3 separate regions of the Homo sapiens genome follow, and regions 1 and 2 are each linked to region 3. The links are contacts of gene promoters, found by promoter capture Hi-C in blood cells and fetal thymus (Javierre and others, 2016). All regions are on one chromosome and are shown on one strand. The core of a region is centred on a gene start or on the middle of the fragment in contact, and the rest is flanking DNA. Distances in the headings are between cores, read along the strand shown. Region 1 has its middle 12 kb from the start of LMX1A. Region 2 has its middle 41 kb from the start of LMX1A. Region 3 holds the start of UCK2 (uridine-cytidine kinase 2).

What was found. Contacts are between HindIII fragments. The CHiCAGO score rates a contact against its expected background, and 5 or more counts as called.
Region 1: a fragment that was not itself captured here is called in contact with the fragment with the promoter of UCK2 in region 3 in 2 of 17 cell types (total B cells and naive CD8 T cells); the score reaches 5.8 in total B cells.
Region 2: a fragment that was not itself captured here is called in contact with the fragment with the promoter of UCK2 in region 3 in 3 of 17 cell types (activated CD4 T cells, naive CD8 T cells and total CD4 T cells); the score reaches 7.5 in activated CD4 T cells.

Annotation. Positions count from the first base shown.
Region 1 is chr1:165,367,210-165,369,909 of GRCh38, forward strand. No RefSeq gene overlaps it. Among named protein-coding and RNA genes, the nearest start is that of LMX1A, 12 kb to the left of the region's middle. The HindIII fragment of the contact is 1,627 bases long and covers 524-2,150 here.
Region 2 is chr1:165,396,011-165,398,710 of GRCh38, forward strand. No RefSeq gene overlaps it. Among named protein-coding and RNA genes, the nearest start is that of LMX1A, 41 kb to the left of the region's middle. The HindIII fragment of the contact is 2,969 bases long and covers 1-2,700 here.
Region 3 is chr1:165,826,359-165,829,058 of GRCh38, forward strand. UCK2 (uridine-cytidine kinase 2) reads left to right here and starts at 1,256. Exons shown (of 7, transcript NM_012474.5): 1 at 1,256-1,574. The coding sequence starts at 1,476. RefSeq lists silencers at 1,045-1,294, 1,375-1,854, 1,915-2,144 and an enhancer at 1,610-2,163. The HindIII fragment of the contact is 2,018 bases long and covers 972-2,700 here.

The sequences.
Region 1 (2,700 bases), core at 87-2,586, 460 kb before region 3:
CAAAGTCGAAAGCCTAAAATATTTGCTCTCTGGCCCTTCACAGAAAAAGCTTGCCAAACCCTGTTCTAAAAGATACTATAAGACCCAAAGTAGATGTCCAGATGAAACAGATGCATCTCTTTCAGCTTTAGGTGTCTGTACCCGGCCAAATAGGATCTCAGTGCTGAGACTTTTGTTCTTCTTGAAGAAAAGCATCGCCACCATGAACCAATGCTGAGAGATTCCTCATTTGCATCAGAAGGTCAAGCTAACCTTTCTCAGCTACTCATTCTTGGAGTTCAAGATGGGCAGGTGTAGTGGGCCAGCCAACCACCTCTGCACCCTGCAAGTCCCATTACCCTCCTGCAGAACCACAGTTGTCCACAAGAGGGCAGTAGCTCTCCTGTTTGCAGTTCTCTGGTGGCCTTCCCAGCTTTGGAGGGCGGCCAGCCCACCTGAGCGCTTTGCTAGCTGAGCCTCCATAGAACTTTCTCTAGCTGGATGGTCAGGAATGGGGCCATCTTACTCTGCAGAAACCTATATAAGCTTTCTGAGACCCGGCAGATAGTCCAACATCTTGGTGGCTTATCGTCAAATCTGTTATTCTTGAAGTGTCAGGAATTTTTTAAAAGAAAGGAAAAGAAATTCTAGTTTCATTCTCTTCTTGCCAACTCCCAAATCCTCTTTTGCTATATTCCAGCCCAGCACACTGTCCCAGTTTTTCAGCTGTTGTGTCTCAGCTCTAACCCCATTCTTCTCTATCCTGCCTTGCAACGCTGAAGCCGGGACCCTGCAAACCCCCTCTCTGCTTTGCCAGGTGGCTCATGGTAGGCTCCGCTAGGTTAGGGTGGAGGAAGGATGCATTTACTTACTAGAAGTTTGCTTGTTTGGACTTCCTTACTTCTACCTGTTGTTCTGAGCAACACCTAGAAATGCTTCTTCATCCCAGTGGTAGCATCCCACTGACAGCAGCTGAAGCCAGCTGGCATCTTCCCCAACTCATGCAGAGCTAGCTCCACCATGCCCACCTCAAAGACACTCACACCAGCTGCCTGTGCCCCGTCCTCAGAGGTCTGTGTCCTGAGTCCACTAGGCATCTCCTCCAAGGCTCTAATTTTTATCATTCCAACTTCTTCCTTCTCCTGTAGCTCCACTCTGCCCCAACAGCCCTATGGGTGGTAGGCCCTTTGCAATTGCTCCATTTATGGTAACCTAGTGTTCTCTTCCTGCATTTTCAGTTATGACTAGTTATCTATTCCTTATATTAAATTTTCTCTAATCAAGCAACTGGGGGTGGCTTTTGTTTCCTAACTGAACTCTGACTGATAGATACTTTTTGTCAGGACTAAAACTAATGAGAGATTTGATTGTGATCGTTGGGTCAGAGATCCTCCACCTGAAAAATTAAGTCCACAAATGCCCACTGTGCATCTACACGTGAAAGGCACTGTCTTGAAGCTGAGAAATGGGCACTGCTGATCAACTCGGGTCCCCTACTCCTGACCCTTACTCCGAGGTCTAACCCTGGTTCTTTGCCTTGTCCTGCAAGGCAGCTCCGTGACTGGTGCTTTGGAATGGTAAACAATGCAGGCCGACTGGCTGCCTCCCTCCCCAACATGTGTTCTTCCTTGTTCCTCTGGCCAACTGTCACCTAGCCGCCCCCCCGACAAGTCCCACCATCCAGACAAAGGAACGCAGAAAAATAGAAGTATAATATCTCCTGCCCCACAATGGCCTGGCATGAGAGTCAGTCTCATAGATCTCATCGAAAGGCAGACATCCCTCACTCTCAAGCATGATTCTTTCTAGACAGCACCTTACCTGGGGAGAGAAGAAAGACGCCACCTTGGGCACAGAGAAGTGGGCGCAGAACTTATCTCTGCGACAGCTTAGCTCGACTAAAAATGCCCAGCAGCAGATTTGGATCTGCACAAGGGAAAGAGCACGACGAGAGGGCAGGCAGGGGCTGAAGAGGGAGAAAAGGAGGCCGATGTGTCTCTGCTAAAAACAAAGCTGGACTCTTTGCAGACCAGCAACTCCCGTCAAAGCCCTCTCTTCAGGAGCCACTGAAATGAATCGTGCTGGTTATAGCATTTAAAAACAGAGCCTCCTCAGTCATCATCACTGGAAAATACAGACTCAACCAAATTATCTGGGATTCCTTTTAATGAAGCTTTGCCCCTCTTTTCCCAGAATGCCCCCACCAACGCTCCAGCGGCACTGGGCATTGCTGTGAACTTGAGCGCACCCTGCTGGCAAGTGGCTGCAAAGACACAAGGACCGTCTTCCCTGCCACATCTTCATGCCACATGTGTGCACAGCAGCTTTGAACTTGAAAGTTGTTTTACCCAAACTTTTGTTCTCTTTCCACACTTTTGTGGTGTTAAACAGATTTCAGCATCCTCATCTCCATCTTCTTTCTGGTTTTTCTATCCAGTTCTTTCTCCACGTGGCCCCTGCCCTGCTGGACCCCACCACAGTCCCCTTTTTGTTTCAAGACTATCTGCTTAACCCAACCAAGTCTTGGCTCCTCAAACGACCACGAGCAGCTCTTGGATTATGGACAATTGGAGGGGTGGGAGTTGGGGCAGGGATGGGCAAGGGGAAGAGATTCTCTCTTAACCCTCGGGCTTTCTGGATTTAGAGGCCTAGAAGAAGAGAACCAACCATAGGGAACTGCGCACAGAAATTACATTGAGAAAACCATCCCAGACCCACTCT
Region 2 (2,700 bases), core at 33-2,532, 430 kb before region 3:
CTACCAGGGAATTGGGCCCTGGAGAAAGGATGAGAAGAGAGAGAAGTGCTCTTAAGTACGTGGTGCTGTTGATGCCTTCCATGTGGCAAGTATCAACAGGTGGGTCTTCTTAGTGCACATGGTGAGCTTTCAGGAGGCCCCATGGGGAACTCTGTGCTGCGAGCTAATAGGTATGGGCAGCGAATGCTCTGCTTGACCCCTTAGTTCCTGCCCACAGCAGTTCAACCCACAGCCTCCTACTGCGGGAGTCCCCTTGCCTTGAGAGGCCACTCTGTTGGTTTGGTACCTTCGGGATATTCTAAACACAACTTTTTTCCAGGGAATTCACTTGGCCCACAGAAAATGCCATATCCTGGACAAACGAAGTACAGGGAGGGGAGCGGTGGGATACAGTGCTCTCCCTTTCCTTCCCCACTTACACCCTCACAATGGGCCCCTGTCCTCAGAGGTCTCTATCAAGAAGAGACATCCATCTCGATGCTCACGGTAGCTCAGGCCCCTCCCAGCTCTCCCTCCCCACCCTCTGTGGCAAGGTGGGGCAGTGGGTTTCTGCTGCTAGGCAAGCATCAGCCAGGATGCCAGGTGCCAGCCTCCCCATTGTGTAGGTACCCACGCCCACTCAATAAGTGGCTCTTTTCTGCCCCCTTCATTTGCCACGGGAATGGGGATCCCTCCCTCTCGCTGTATACCCTGAAGGGGTAGGGTAAAGCCATGACTCTACTCCCCAAATACTCCTTATTCTACGGACTTCTCTCCTTAAATTCCAATCTTCTATGAACATTGGCTCAAGAAGAGGAATAAGTCACAGAACCAGCTCATCTACCTTCATAAGTCCTTAGAACATGAGGGGACCTCATGGCCTCACCTTGGGGCTTTAGCCAAAATTCCAAAACGACAGGAAGATACTCTTTGGTATTTTATTCCATTAGTGACACTTTGTAGCAGAGTTTCACCATCTCAGTACTTGTGACATTTTGGGCCAGATAATTCTTTGCTGTGGGGCCATCCTGTGCATTATAGATGCTTAGCAGCATCCCCAGCCTCCATCTAGCAGAACTCCCCTTGTCATGACCATCAAAAGTGTCTTCAGATATTGCCAAATGTCCCTGGGGGTGGGGAGGGACACGCTTGTTCCCTGGTGAGACTTTTTTTTTTTTTTTTTTTAGACCAAGTTTTACTCTTGTCACCCAGGCTGTAGTGCAATGGCGTGATCTCAGCTAACTGCAACCTCTGCCTCAAGCGATTCTCCTGCCTCAGCCTCCCAAATAGCTGGGATTACAGGTGCCTGCCACCACGCCCAGCTAATTTTTGTATTTTTAGAAGAGACGGGGTTTCACCATGTTGGCCAGGTTGGTCTTGAACTCCTGACCTCAGGTGGTCCGCCCGCCTCTGCCTCCCAAAGTGCCGGGATTACAGGTGTGAGCCATCATGCCTGGCCTGAGACTGCTTAATAGACTAAAGGAAGGCATTGAAAGTTTTTGAACAAGAAAGCAGTATAAAATTATAAACAAATATTTGGTTGATTTCACTAAAGGATATGAAAAAAATGGCCAAGGCCAAGAAATACTTACTGTGCAAATGACATCTTTTTCACAGTCTTTAATAGTGTACAAAGTACTGTCATTAAATTATCTCCCTTAACTTTCACACCAACCATGTGAGGAAGGGTGGGCCCACACTGCACGGGTGAGTTGTCAGCGTGGAGGATGGGGGCTAAGGTGCGGAGAGCTCTCAGGTTAGGTAGGGTGTGGAGAAGGAGTTAGGTGTAGGGCGGGGCTTTTCCATGGAGTCTGGACTTTCTTTCCAGAGCAGGAATCCTGTAGAAGATATTTGGATGAATAATAATAATAATAATGGTGTACTAAAATTAACTGAGAGCTCACTACGTGCTGGACATAGCCCTGTGTATGGTTCGTAGATCATCTCATCTGCTTCTCTCAACAGGCCCCTGTGGATAGGTACTATTATTTTTCACAGTTTACAAGGTAGAGAACTAAGGTCTAAAAGGTTAAATCACTTTCCCAGGGTTATTCAGTGATCAGATGGGATTTTAATTGAGGCCGGCTGGGCTGACTCCGAGCCTGTGTTTGTAACCATGGCCCCTTCCTGCTTGCATTTCCTCCAATCTGACTCATAGGCAGGCTCCACAGTCATCAGAGCCCTGCACTCGCTTGGTCCCTGCAGCTCACCCAGGCTTTCCTGTTATCAGCACTGTTTGTTAGCAAAATGGGTTGGTTCATTGCCATTTGCCTGCTGAAAAGCGTTAAACCAAAACTAGAAACTAGAAATTGTTTGTCCCTTTTACAGTATGTTGGATGATCCAAGGCAGGCTGTGGAATAGAATGTTCTGGCAATCTCCTCGAAACTCCAAGATTGTGTTTTAATTGCAATCTCAATCTTCAGCAGAAAATAAATTAATATTTTTGCCCATCTTCCGTGCCAGTCACAGCACTAAGAGCATTAGCTTATGTAATCCTCACAAGAATCCCATTTTACAGATTCGGTGATTGAGGCTCAGCGAGGTTTAAGTCCATCATGAATGACAAAGTCAGGACTCAGAACCCAAGTATGTCTTATGTACATTCTCTTACACTAGGCTTTATGCATCTTTCATCTTTTTATCCTTATAAGATGTGTATTATTATCTGACCTTTACAAATAAGAGAAGGAAATAAAAGGCAGAGAGGGTGAGTAACTTTC
Region 3 (2,700 bases), core at 6-2,505:
GAGTGCAGTGGGGAGATCATGGCTCACTGCAGCCTCGATTTCCCTGGCTTGAGAGAAAATTATTTTTTTCAAAATAATCTTCAATTTAAGGTAATTTACTAAGTTTCAAAAGATAATGCTATTGACGTAAATTCTGTTTTAGATTGTAGGCCCCATCAGCTCATTGATACTAGTCCCAAGTTCACAGGAGAAGAGACTGGAAGTTACTAGGCTAGTCCTGCCTCTCTCAGGTGTGTCCCAGCAAAACTTTTCTTTCCAGTTTCAGCGCTTTAGAAACCTTTTCTCTTCAAACACTAATACAGGGCCTAGACTGTACCAGCACTGTTCTGAGAACTTTACATACACTAATTCATTTAATTCTCACAAAAATCCTGGGATGTAATTGCCATTATTATTCCCATTTAACAGATAAGAACACTGAAGCACAGAGAGATTAAGTAACTTGCTCAGGGACCTGGATGTGAATGCAGAAATCTGGCTCCAGAGGTGGAGTCTGAAACTGCCTTTCTAAGTGACTGATTGCCAATCTCTGGAAAACCGTTCAATTGAAGATATTAATGGATCAAAATGTCAGTATGTTTTCAGATACCCTAACTCCATAGGAAGCTCAGTGTATGGGATGAGATACTGTGGTTTAGAAGGGAATTGCTTTTCCAACGGAGGGCACCCTTCAGATAAGCCCCTCAAATTGCCCTTCACTAGAGAGTCGCACGAGGACAGGCCTGCTAAAAAGGATGGCGCTGGGGGGTTTCCAAGACAGGAAATATCTAAAGCCAGCGGCTGACATATTATCTTGGCGAACGGGAGAAGGGAAAAAGAACCCTCATTTTTTGGAAACACAAGTTTTTAGCCTGGATAATGGGTAAATGACATTAACTCTTCGTTCCACACTAATCTTTCAAGCTTGTTCAAATTTTGCTTCTCAAACCTGGGCCATTCCTTCTTATCTAATCTGCCTATTATTTCCTTCAAGCTTTTTATCCCTTCTGAAAATAGGTGGTAGCATACCAAATTAAAATACAGAACAGCCTGTTTCTTTCCCCCAGGGTCCACTAGGGCGCGTCGGAGAAAGGGTTAACCGGGCGGGTGGGAGGGAAGGTCGGGCTCACACCTTTCGCAGAGACCTCGGGCGGCGGCGGGGCCCGGGAGGGGCGGAGGCTGGGGCCAGACGCCTCGCCGCCTCCGCCTCGGCGAATAGCAGCGCGCTGCCCGCCCGGATTGGAGCAGCAGCATCACGCTGACCTCTGCCTGGGATGTAAACCGGACCAGCCGCTGCGGGCAAAGGAAGGCTCTTGGCTCCTTCGGGAAACCCAGCCCCGTCACCGGGCTCCGAGCGGCTCGCAGGCGAGCGACAGCGGCCTCAGCCCCGGCAGCGCCCAGCGGCGGCTGCGGAAAGCGGAGGGAGTCCGACGCGGGCGCGGGCGGGGAGCGTGCGTCCGTTCGCACAGGCAGCGGGAGGAGGGGCGGCGCGAACCATGGCCGGGGACAGCGAGCAGACCCTGCAGAACCACCAGCAGCCCAACGGCGGCGAGCCCTTCCTTATAGGCGTCAGCGGGGGAACAGCTAGCGGCAAGGTACGGCGGGGCCCGGAGCCGCGCTCCCTTCCCGGCTTCTGTCCCTGGGCGGCGCATGTGGCCGGCGGCCGCGGGCCGTGTCAGTTGCGGCAGCCACCGCGTGGCCCGCGCGCCTCCGCTCCCGGCCGCGCTCCAGCGCCGAGTGCGCCCCGCGCGGCCTGGGGGCGCTGCGGCGGGGGCAGGCGAAGACTCGGGCCTTGGGGGTTCCGGGGGTACGCGGCCACGATCGCAGGGCGGGAGTGCTCCTCCGGCTTTTCTCCCCCCGCGTTAATAACTCGTGGCCGGGGTCCTATGGGGGAAGGGCAGGGAAGCGGATGCTTATTGTTTTGCAACTCCAGTGTCGGGGGAGAGGGCTTTCCGCAGGATCCCCCACTAACCCCCGATGGACTCCCTCAAGCCCCGGTCTGGCACAGACGTGCTCGCCCCGCGGCGCAGCCTGGTGCCGAGGGCGGAGCGAGCCGGGAAGCGCGGCCGAGAGGGCGAGGGTGGCGGGAACGCGCGAGGCGGCATCCCGGGGAAGGGGAGCCCAGTGTGGGGCTGCACGCAAGGGCTGGGGATTACAGGGGTTTCCGGGTAAAAGTCTGAGAGCCAAATAGGTGCCGTGACATCAATGAAACGATAATAGTAGGGGCTTCTGTTTTTTAAGGTTATAAGAGGAAACGTGGTCGGCTTCAATGAGAAAGTTGTACTGGCTCCAAGCTCTTCGGTGTCCAGGACGTACGCGTCTTGGATCCACGGAAGGGGGTCATCGTATGGGTGTCTGACCCTCTTAGGAGCCTGTTTCCTTTGTTTTATCCGCAAGGCAAGGAGAGACAAGGGAAATGACTTCCTAGCTTTACCCGGGGTTTTTTCTGCAGGTGGAGAAGGGTGGAGTCCTCCCAGATGGTTCTTTCTTTGCTCCCCTAACAGCCTTTAAGATGTGGCTACTTGTTTTTCCCACCGTTTAACACCCTCCAACTTCATTTGGAGCACGGGTTCCTCAAGGGATCCTGAGAGCTGGGTGCTGGGTGCTGGTTTGGAGAGGCAGGATGATGCTTCTCCCGGCTGGGGAGAGCAGAGCAGGAAGGCTGGTTGGCGCCATGAGGAAAGAGCCACGAGGTTTTAGCTCCCGAACCGACTCGTCAGT